Linked DNA regions of Homo sapiens: regions 1 and 3 are each linked to region 2. The links are contacts of gene promoters, found by promoter capture Hi-C in blood cells and fetal thymus (Javierre and others, 2016). All regions are on one chromosome and are shown on one strand. The core of a region is centred on a gene start or on the middle of the fragment in contact, and the rest is flanking DNA. Distances in the headings are between cores, read along the strand shown.

Region 1 (2,773 bases), core at 175-2,674, 140 kb before region 2:
TTTATCCAATTTGCCAGTCTGTGTCTTTTAATTGGGGCATTTAGCCCATTTACATTTAAAATTAATATTGTTATGCGTGAGTTTGATCCTGTCGTTATGATGCTAGCTGGTTATTTTCCCTGTTAGTTGATGCAATTTCTTCATAGTGTTGATGGTGATTACAGTTTGTTATGTTTTTGTAGTGGCTGGTACTGGTTTTTCCTTTCCATATTTAGTGCTTCCTTCAGGAGCTCTTGTAAGACAGGCGTGGTGATGACAGAATCTCTCAGCATTTGCTTGTCTGTAAAGGATATTATTTCTCCTTCATTTGTGAAGCGTAGCTTGACTGGATACGAAATTCTGGGTTGAAATTCTTTAAGAATGTTGAATATTGGCCCCCACTGTCTTCTGGCTTGTAGGGTTTCTGCAGAGAGATCCATTGTTAGTCTATCATTTTTCTGTTTTCTAATTCATTAATTTAGACTTTTGTTTATATTATTTATTGTGCTTTCCTTAGGTATGCGTTTTCTGAGTTTATTGTGTTGGGGGTATTAATTTTTCTTTCTTGTTTTTCAGCAGAAGTATACAAGCCTATGAATTTTTCTCTGAAGATGTTTTAGCTCTGTTTCAAAGGTTCCGATAAGTAGTGGTTTTTTTTAGATGAGGTACTTTGTATTTTGGGGGTGTCTTTTTTAACTCAAAAGTTATTTGAGAGTATCTTTATCCAAGTGTAGAGGACTTTTTTCCCCCTGGTTTTGCTATTTGTTTCCTAGTTTTGCCGCATTGTGATCAGAGGATGTTGTCTGTACTAGTTTTATATTTTCAAAATTTATTACTGTTTTCTTTGTGGTTTAATGTAAGGTCACTTTTGGCGAATGTTTCCTATTCATGTGTAATTTAAAAGGTCCTTTGGGAGGACAAAGCAGGAGGATCACTTGAGACCCCAGGAGTTCAAGACCCGACCAGCCTGGGCAACATAGTGAGACCGTATCTCTATTTAAAAAATAGGAAAGTCAACCAAGCGTGGTGGTGCATGCCAATAGTCGCAGCTACTGGGGAGGCTGAGGTGGGAGGATCACTTGAGCCCAGGAATTGGAGGCTGCAGTGAGCTATAATCGCACCACTACACCTCAGCCTGGATGACAGAGCAAGACTGTCTCTGAAAAAACAAAAAGACATAGATAAAATTTAATGCTACTGCACTTCATCCTAGATGACAGAGACCCTGTTTCAAAAAAAGGTCTTTAATATTCATCTTTTTTTAAATTCACTTGATCGTCATGGACTAAGGTGAATTAAGGTGTGCTACTACTCATGTTTCTGTTTTTCTCTATATTGCATATTTTTTTTCCTTTACAAATGTTGCTGCTGTTATATGGGTATAAACATAACTATTATAACTTGGGTGCAAATTGCATTTTTTAATATTATAAAAGCTCCTCTGTCTCCTTTAATGTTTATGCCTTATGTTCAACCTTGTCAATAGTAAGATTGTAATTCATTCTTTCTTTTAGTTTGTATTTGCCTGATAAGTTTTTTTTTTCATTTTCATTTCCTGAATATTTTTTGTTTCTTATATGCTTTTTGTATACACAGTACAGGGTTAGATTTTGTTTGCAATCCAATCTAATCTTTGTTTTTTGTTTGTTTGTTTTTGTTGGTTTAGCCCATTTATATTTCTTAATATGGTCAGTGCTAATTCTGTCATTATACTTTCTGGTTTCATGACTTTTTAAAAATGTTTCACTGGGTGGCCAGCTTTTTTTTTTTTTTTTTTTTTTTTAATAGACCGAGTCTTGCTCTGTCACTCAGGCTGGAGTGCAGTGGCGCGATCTCGGCTCACTGCAACCTCTGCCTCCCAGGTTCAAGCGATTCCCCTGCCTCAGCCTCCCGAATAGCTGGGATTACAGGCGCCTGCCATCATACACCCAGCTAATTTTTGTATTTTTAGTAGAGACGGGGTTTCAGCATGTTGGCGAGGCTGGTCTCGAACTCCTGACCTCAGGTGATCTGCCTGCCTTGGCCTCCCAGAGTGCTGGGATTACAGGCGTGAGCCACTGCGCCCGGCCCCAGCTCTTGTTTCTTTTTTTTTTTTTAATTAGAAATAACTGTGTTGTTTCTTTTGATTAGAAATAACTGTGGTGTTTCTAATTGTATTTCTTATAACTGTATTTCTGTGTTTAGTGATTACTTTTATAATTTTATAGAATACCTCTTATTTTTAGATACTGTTTTTTTCTATGAGCAATAATGAAATTAGTGTATTTCCTATTTTTCTCCTTCCTTCCCGTGTTCTAATTTTAGTTGTTACATTACCTAATGTTTGCTTTTATACTATTAAGTTTTTTTTGTACTTCTCTTTGCTTTGTTAGCTTTAAATAATACTTTTTGACACCTAGTTATTTATATCATCTTCCCCCCATCCATCCTCACCTCTTTTAATTTTTGCTAGGTAGATACTTTATACATTATCTAATCAATGTTCCCACTTTTGTTTTAATCTTACCATTACGTAGATTCAGCTGCCACTGCTAATCCTTTTGCTTTAGTTTTTTCAGATGTCTCTTGGCTAGCTGAAGTTCATCCTCATAGAAATCCTTTCACATGGGCTCATGGGAAATAATTACCTAGATTTCTTGCATGTTTAACACAGACTGCTTATCTATGTGTCTTTTTGTTTTTTGAATAACAGTTTAACTGGGTATGAAATCTTTGGGTTATACCTTCTCTACTTGAGGACATTTTAAGCATTCTTCTGGTCTTACAAGTATAATAATGTGTTTCTGTGGAGAAG
Region 2 (2,841 bases), core at 154-2,653:
CTAAGATGCATCGTGGAGTTACTCTTTTACTCTTCCCTGAAAGTGATAGTTCAATCTTCAACAGGGGCTTTGAGGGAGAACAAACTCGACCCTTTGGCAAGCACGACTTCTGGCTTCACCGTTTTTTTGTTTTTTGTTTGTTTGTTTGTTTTTGACGGAGTTTTGCTCTTGTTGCCCAGGCTGGAGCGCAACAGGGCGATCTCGGCTCACTGCAACCTCTGCCTCCCGGGTTCAAGCAATTCTCCTGCTTCAGCCTCCCGAGTAGCTGGGATTACAGGCATGCGCCACCACGCCCGGTTAATTTTTTTTTTTTTTTTTTTTAGTAGAGACGGTTTCACCATGTTGGGCCAGGCTGGTCTCGAACTCTCGACCTCAGGTGATCCGCCTGCCTTGGCCTCCCAAAGTGCTGGGATTACAGGCGTGAGCCACCGCGCCCGGCCCTGGCTTCACCCTTAAAGCAGAAAGGCCAGAAGTCATCAAGGCCATGGGTTTACTAGCTTAGCTTCCCCAGACTTAATTTCAAACACCAACAACCGAAATGTTTCCTAGAATGCAGAGCTAATGAGACATCAACCTCTGTCATTTCCTATGTTTTTCACAATGTGCCAAAACAACTGCACACATTGGAGGCGTTTTTGAATGTGATATTCAGGCGACCTTGCCAAGCATTGTCTCATTTCCTTACTTTGTGGAGCATGAAACCCAAGGGAAGTTCTCACCCTCTCTCCAGGACCAAGCAGGACACTGGGAGCTGCTGTCCCGTCTGCAGGCGGGACTCCATGAAGGCCCCTGTCTGCCCTTCCAGCCTTTGCCACAAACCCTCGAACGCTGGCTGCACACTGGAATCACTTGGGGAGCTTTTAAAAGATACGGAGGCCTGGGTCTGACTCCGTGAGATTCTGATGGAATTGATCTAGGGTGCAGCCTGGATATCTGGATTTTAAAAGCTCCCCAGGTGGTTCTAAGCTGCTGGCACGATTGAGAACCCCTGCGTTCGACCACAGTGGGATAAACGATTCCGCTGACTGTGAAGTTCATCCCTCTCAACTTTCGCTACATGCTTCAAACTCGCGGGTTTCTCCGCTTGGTTCCACCCAGAGCTCCTCCAGAGCCGCGCTGCGTTCCGCCCGCACGCAAATCCCGCCTCCCTGCGCCTCCTCACTCGCAGCGCCCAGGACCTCAGAAAGGGCCTGCCCCGCGCGAATCCCCAGTCGCTGGGACTTACTTGGCCACCAGGTTTACAGACTTCGCAGCCGCTGAGAGCTAGAGAAGAGCCCGGAGAGCGCCATGGTCCGGGGACGCCGGGGCCGGGAAGCGCCGTGGCCCGGGAGGACGCTGCTCCCGCAGTAGCGCGAGGGAGGGGCAGGACCGGGGCGGCTGCCTCGCGGGCCCGGAACGGGAACTGGCTGCGACTACAGCCGCAGCCGCGCCCCTCTGTTGGCGCGCCCAAGAGCCTGCCGGCTGCTGGGAGAGGCCGCCGAAGGGCGGGGGCGGTCAAGGCAGGGTCCCACGGTGCTGCCATTCGCCCGGGTCTGGCGCGGGGGGGCGAGAGAAGCTGCGCGCAGAGGGACGCCCGGTGCGAGAGGGTGAGCCCCTGGCCACCGCGCAGGGCCGAGTGGACAGGCCCAAGTTCGCCCAGAGGTGACACACTTGGGAATTTGTGGTGCCATCGTGCCAGGTCCCTCCTCGTAAAAGTGCCTACCCAGCGCCTGCAACCAGAGCCAAAGCCTGGACATGATAGGGAAACTCTTGTTAAAACGCGACACGTGGTCCTGATGAAATGGAGGTTAACGTAATCAAATTTAAATTACACTGCATACATTTCAATTTATACTTTTTAAAAAATGTAAGCTTTTCTTCCTATCCTTAAATTTGTTCTTGGCAGTGTACATTTTATGTTCTATGCATATGCTCTAATAGGTTGTAAAAGAGTTTTAACATGCTAATAAATGTCCCCAATAAAATAGTTTTAAAACGTTTTGAATGGGGATCGTGTCCATAAGGGATATCATGCTACAGAAAGTTGTCACTTACTCACACTGAAGAAGTACATTCAATCATATAGCCACTGATGCTTGTGAGTATTAAAATTCCCATCAGAGGCTGCCCTCTGAGAAACAGAAAGTATGTTCTTAAATCAAAAGTGAAAGTGCAAACTAAAGTTGATAGGATCAAATGTGCCAACTTGTGTCAGGCCTCTGAGCCCAAGCCTGCATGTATACATCCAGATGGCCTGAAGCAACTGAGGAATCACAAAGGTAGTGAAAATGGCTGGTTCCTGCCTTAACTGATGACATTACCTTGTGAAATTCCTTCTCCTGGCTCAGAAGCTCCCCCACTGAGCACTTTGTAGACCTTCCACCCCCCCGGCCCCCGCCTTGCCCACCAGAGAACAACCCCCTTTGACTGTAATTTTCCACTACCCACACAAATCCTATAAAGCTACCACACCCCTAACTCCCTTTGCTGACTCTTTTTTTCGTACTCGGCCCACCTGCACCCAGGTGAAATAAACAGCTTTATTGCTCACGCAAAGCCTTTTGGTGGTCTCTTCACACGGACACGTGTGACATTTGGTGCCGAAGACCCGGGACAGGAGGACTCCTTCAGGAGACCAGTCCCCTGTCCTCACCCTCACTCTGTGAGGAGATCCACCTATGACCTCGGGTCCTCAGACCAAACAGCCCAAGGAACATCTCACCAATTTCAAATCGGGTAAGCGGTCTTTTCACTGTCTTCTCCAGCCTCTCTCACTACCCTTAAATCTCCCTCTATTTCCAATTCCAGTTCTTTCTCCTCTCTAGTAGAGACAAAGGAGACATATTTTATCCATGGACCCAA
Region 3 (2,806 bases), core at 249-2,748, 140 kb after region 2:
GTCACCCCTCCAGCCTCCACCACCAAACATGAACATCAGTATTGAAGCGGAGGGACGAAAGGCATTTGCATATAGGAGATGCTGTCTATATTGGTGGCAGGAGGAAATGTGGCATCTAAAACAAGGCTGAGAGTCTTTTGGCATTTCTCTTATTGGGTGTTAGAGAGGCTTCCTCGCCTACATAGAAAGAGACTTTAGTCCAGGGGTCACTGGTTCCAGTATACCCTTGGTTCAGTTTTTACTTTTCAGAATGGCTTTCTTTTTATGGATTTTTAAAAATTAAAAATCAAAATTAGTCATATTTTAAAAAGTAATGACTACTTTTTTTAAAACAAAAAGGAAAAAATAATTCTGAAGACTATTATGTAGAAAATTAAACTTCCAGTTATATGCCTCTCCCCAGGTGTTTTATGTCTCTTCTCTGTATTGAGCAAACATTTTCTATAAAGGACCAGATGGTAAATATTTTTAGCTTTATGAGTCTCTGTCACATAACTTTGTTGTTTTTTACAGCTTGTAAAAAACAGCTTTTAAAAAATGTCCAAACTGGCTGGGTGTGGTGGCTCATGCTTGTAATCCTAGCACTTTGGGAGGCCGAGGTGGGAAGATTGCTTGAGCTCAGAAATTTGAGACCAGCCTGGGCAACATAGCAAGACCCTGTCTCTACAAAAAATACAAAAATTAGCCAGGTGTGATAGCACGCCCCTGTAGTTTCAGCTACTTGGGAGGCTGAGGTGGGAAGATCACATGAGCCCGGGAGGTTGAGGCTGTAGTGAGCCATGATTGCACCACTGAACTCAAGCCTGGGTGACAGAGTGAGGCCCTGTCTCAAACAAACAGACGAAAAAAGATCATGCTTAGCTCCATGGTCTTGGGTATGTCTGCCTTCTCTAGATGATTTTTCTACGTGTTCTAACACATGCATGCATAAATGCATAATAATATGCATATGTTTATAAATGGCTATTAATGATGTTGTTTTTAATATATTCTTTTTCCCTTGTGGAATTAGAAAGAATTACTGTAATCTGTTAGGATTTTCTTAGCAAGCTTGCTTGACATATGTCAAAATGATAATAGTAATTATTTTTAGGATTATGGGTGATCATTAATTTCTTTACACTTTTTAGATTTTCTGGGACTTCTTTTTATTTTCAGATCAAACCAATAAAATGTTTTTCCTTTTGTATGAGAAAAGATTATTACTTTTCTTTTTGTTTCATACCCAGCTCCTTCTCTTAGTTTGCTCTGATTCTGATTTCAGATTAAACCAGATGTTGTTCTTGCTGTCTCAGTTAAGTAATTTGCTTAAGTCTCACAGCCAGTGAGTGGTGAGGCTGGGATATAAACCTGGCTGTCTGACACCAGACTCATGCTCTTAACAGTTATGCTGTACTGCTTTATAAACCCCACTGGATGCCTGCTCGTCCTTATCTAAGTGCCATTGTGAGGGTTAGGGATCAGAAAATGGAAAGTCACTGGAAAACAGGGCTAAATGAAACAAGAAGCTCCAGAGTCCCAGAGGCTCTTAAGGAGAGGGGAGAACTCCCTTAGAGAGTTTAATACTTTTTGTGTACTTTATATATTTTTTTAATAAAAAAATTTACCGTTGCAGTTAATGCCACACCAATTCTCTTTCCATCCAGAGAAGTAACCACTATCCCAATGTTGTTATTCTCAGGCACGTTTTTGTAATTTTACCTTTCAGTACATAAATGTTAGTTGACATCTGCAGTAAATTATAACCACCAAACTATATGGTTAAGAACATAAGTATACTTAACCAGTCGACATGTATAGGGAATGTCAGATTGCCAGGTTACATGTTTTTAGGCTTTGTTCTTTAATTCCTTTTGTTGTTGTTTTGTGTTGGAGTTTCTGAGCTCATATGAGTTTTATATTTGCTTGCTTTATTACAGACACCCCATGTGATAACATGTGCTTGGAAAGCTTAGTAGTTTTTTCTTTTTTTCTTTTTTTTTTTTTTTTTTTGAGACAGAGTCTTACTCTGTCACCCAGGCTGGAGTGCAGTGGTGCACTCTCAGCTCACTGCAGCCTCTGCCTCCTGGGTTCAAGCGATTCTCCTGCCTCGGCCTCCCAAATAGCTGGGATTACAGATACATGGCACTGCACCCAGCTAATTTTTGTATTTTCATGAAGACAGGATTTCTCCGTGTTAGCCAGGCTGGTCTTGAACTTCTGACCTCAGGTGATCCACCCGCCTTAGCCTCCCAAAGTGCTGGGATTAGAGACACGAACCACTGTGTCTGGCCAAGCTTAGTAGTTTTGATGGTTGAATTTCCCCAAACTCTTTGGATCAAGGGCAAAAAAAAAAAATGAATCTTCTTGAGAAGGACTAACTAGGTATCTACCAAAATAAGCTCTTTACAAACTCTTGTTCTTATTGAAATAACGGGTTCTTAAGAGTTTGTCATAGTTGGGGTTTCTATAAGAAAGCACCACATACAGAGTGGCTTATAAACAATGGACATTGATTTCTCACCGTTCTGGAGGCTGGAATTGAGAGATCAGGGTGCCAGCATCGTCTGATCCTTGTGAGGGCCCCATTCTCAGTCGCATACTGCCAACTTCTTGTTGTATCCTCACATGGTGAAAGAGGGCAAGAGAGCTCTCTGGGGTCCCAAATTCCAGTGATTAGGGCTCCATCCTCATGACCTAATCACCTCCCAAAGGCACCTCCTCCTAATACCATCACATTGGGAGTTAGGATTTCAATATACGAATTTTGTCAAGGACACAAGCATTCAATTCATTGCAGGTTCTTTGAAAATAATTTAAATTTTGC

Evidence for each region. The method cuts DNA at HindIII sites, captures the fragments that hold promoters and counts their contacts. A CHiCAGO score of 5 or more calls a contact.
Region 1: a contact is called between a fragment that was not itself captured here and the fragment with the promoter of NOD1 in region 2, in 1 of 17 cell types (total B cells). The highest score is 5.2, in total B cells.
Region 3: a contact is called between a fragment that was not itself captured here and the fragment with the promoter of NOD1 in region 2, in 3 of 17 cell types (activated CD4 T cells, total CD4 T cells and naive CD4 T cells). The highest score is 6.1, in activated CD4 T cells.

Annotation. Positions count from the first base shown.
Region 1 is chr7:30,342,174-30,344,946 of GRCh38, forward strand. All of the region lies in intron 2 of ZNRF2 (zinc and ring finger 2), which reads left to right. Among named protein-coding and RNA genes, the nearest start is that of LINC01176, 47 kb to the right of the region's middle. The HindIII fragment of the contact is 5,981 bases long and covers 1-2,773 here.
Region 2 is chr7:30,477,381-30,480,221 of GRCh38, forward strand. NOD1 (nucleotide binding oligomerization domain containing 1) reads right to left here and starts at 1,404. Exons shown (of 14, transcript NM_006092.4): 1 at 1,226-1,404. RefSeq lists an enhancer at 900-1,644 and a silencer at 1,293-1,532. The HindIII fragment of the contact is 7,069 bases long and covers 1-1,849 here.
Region 3 is chr7:30,617,804-30,620,609 of GRCh38, forward strand. All of the region lies in intron 10 of GARS1 (glycyl-tRNA synthetase 1), which reads left to right. Among named protein-coding and RNA genes, the nearest start is that of GARS1, 24 kb to the left of the region's middle. The HindIII fragment of the contact is 900 bases long and covers 1,049-1,948 here.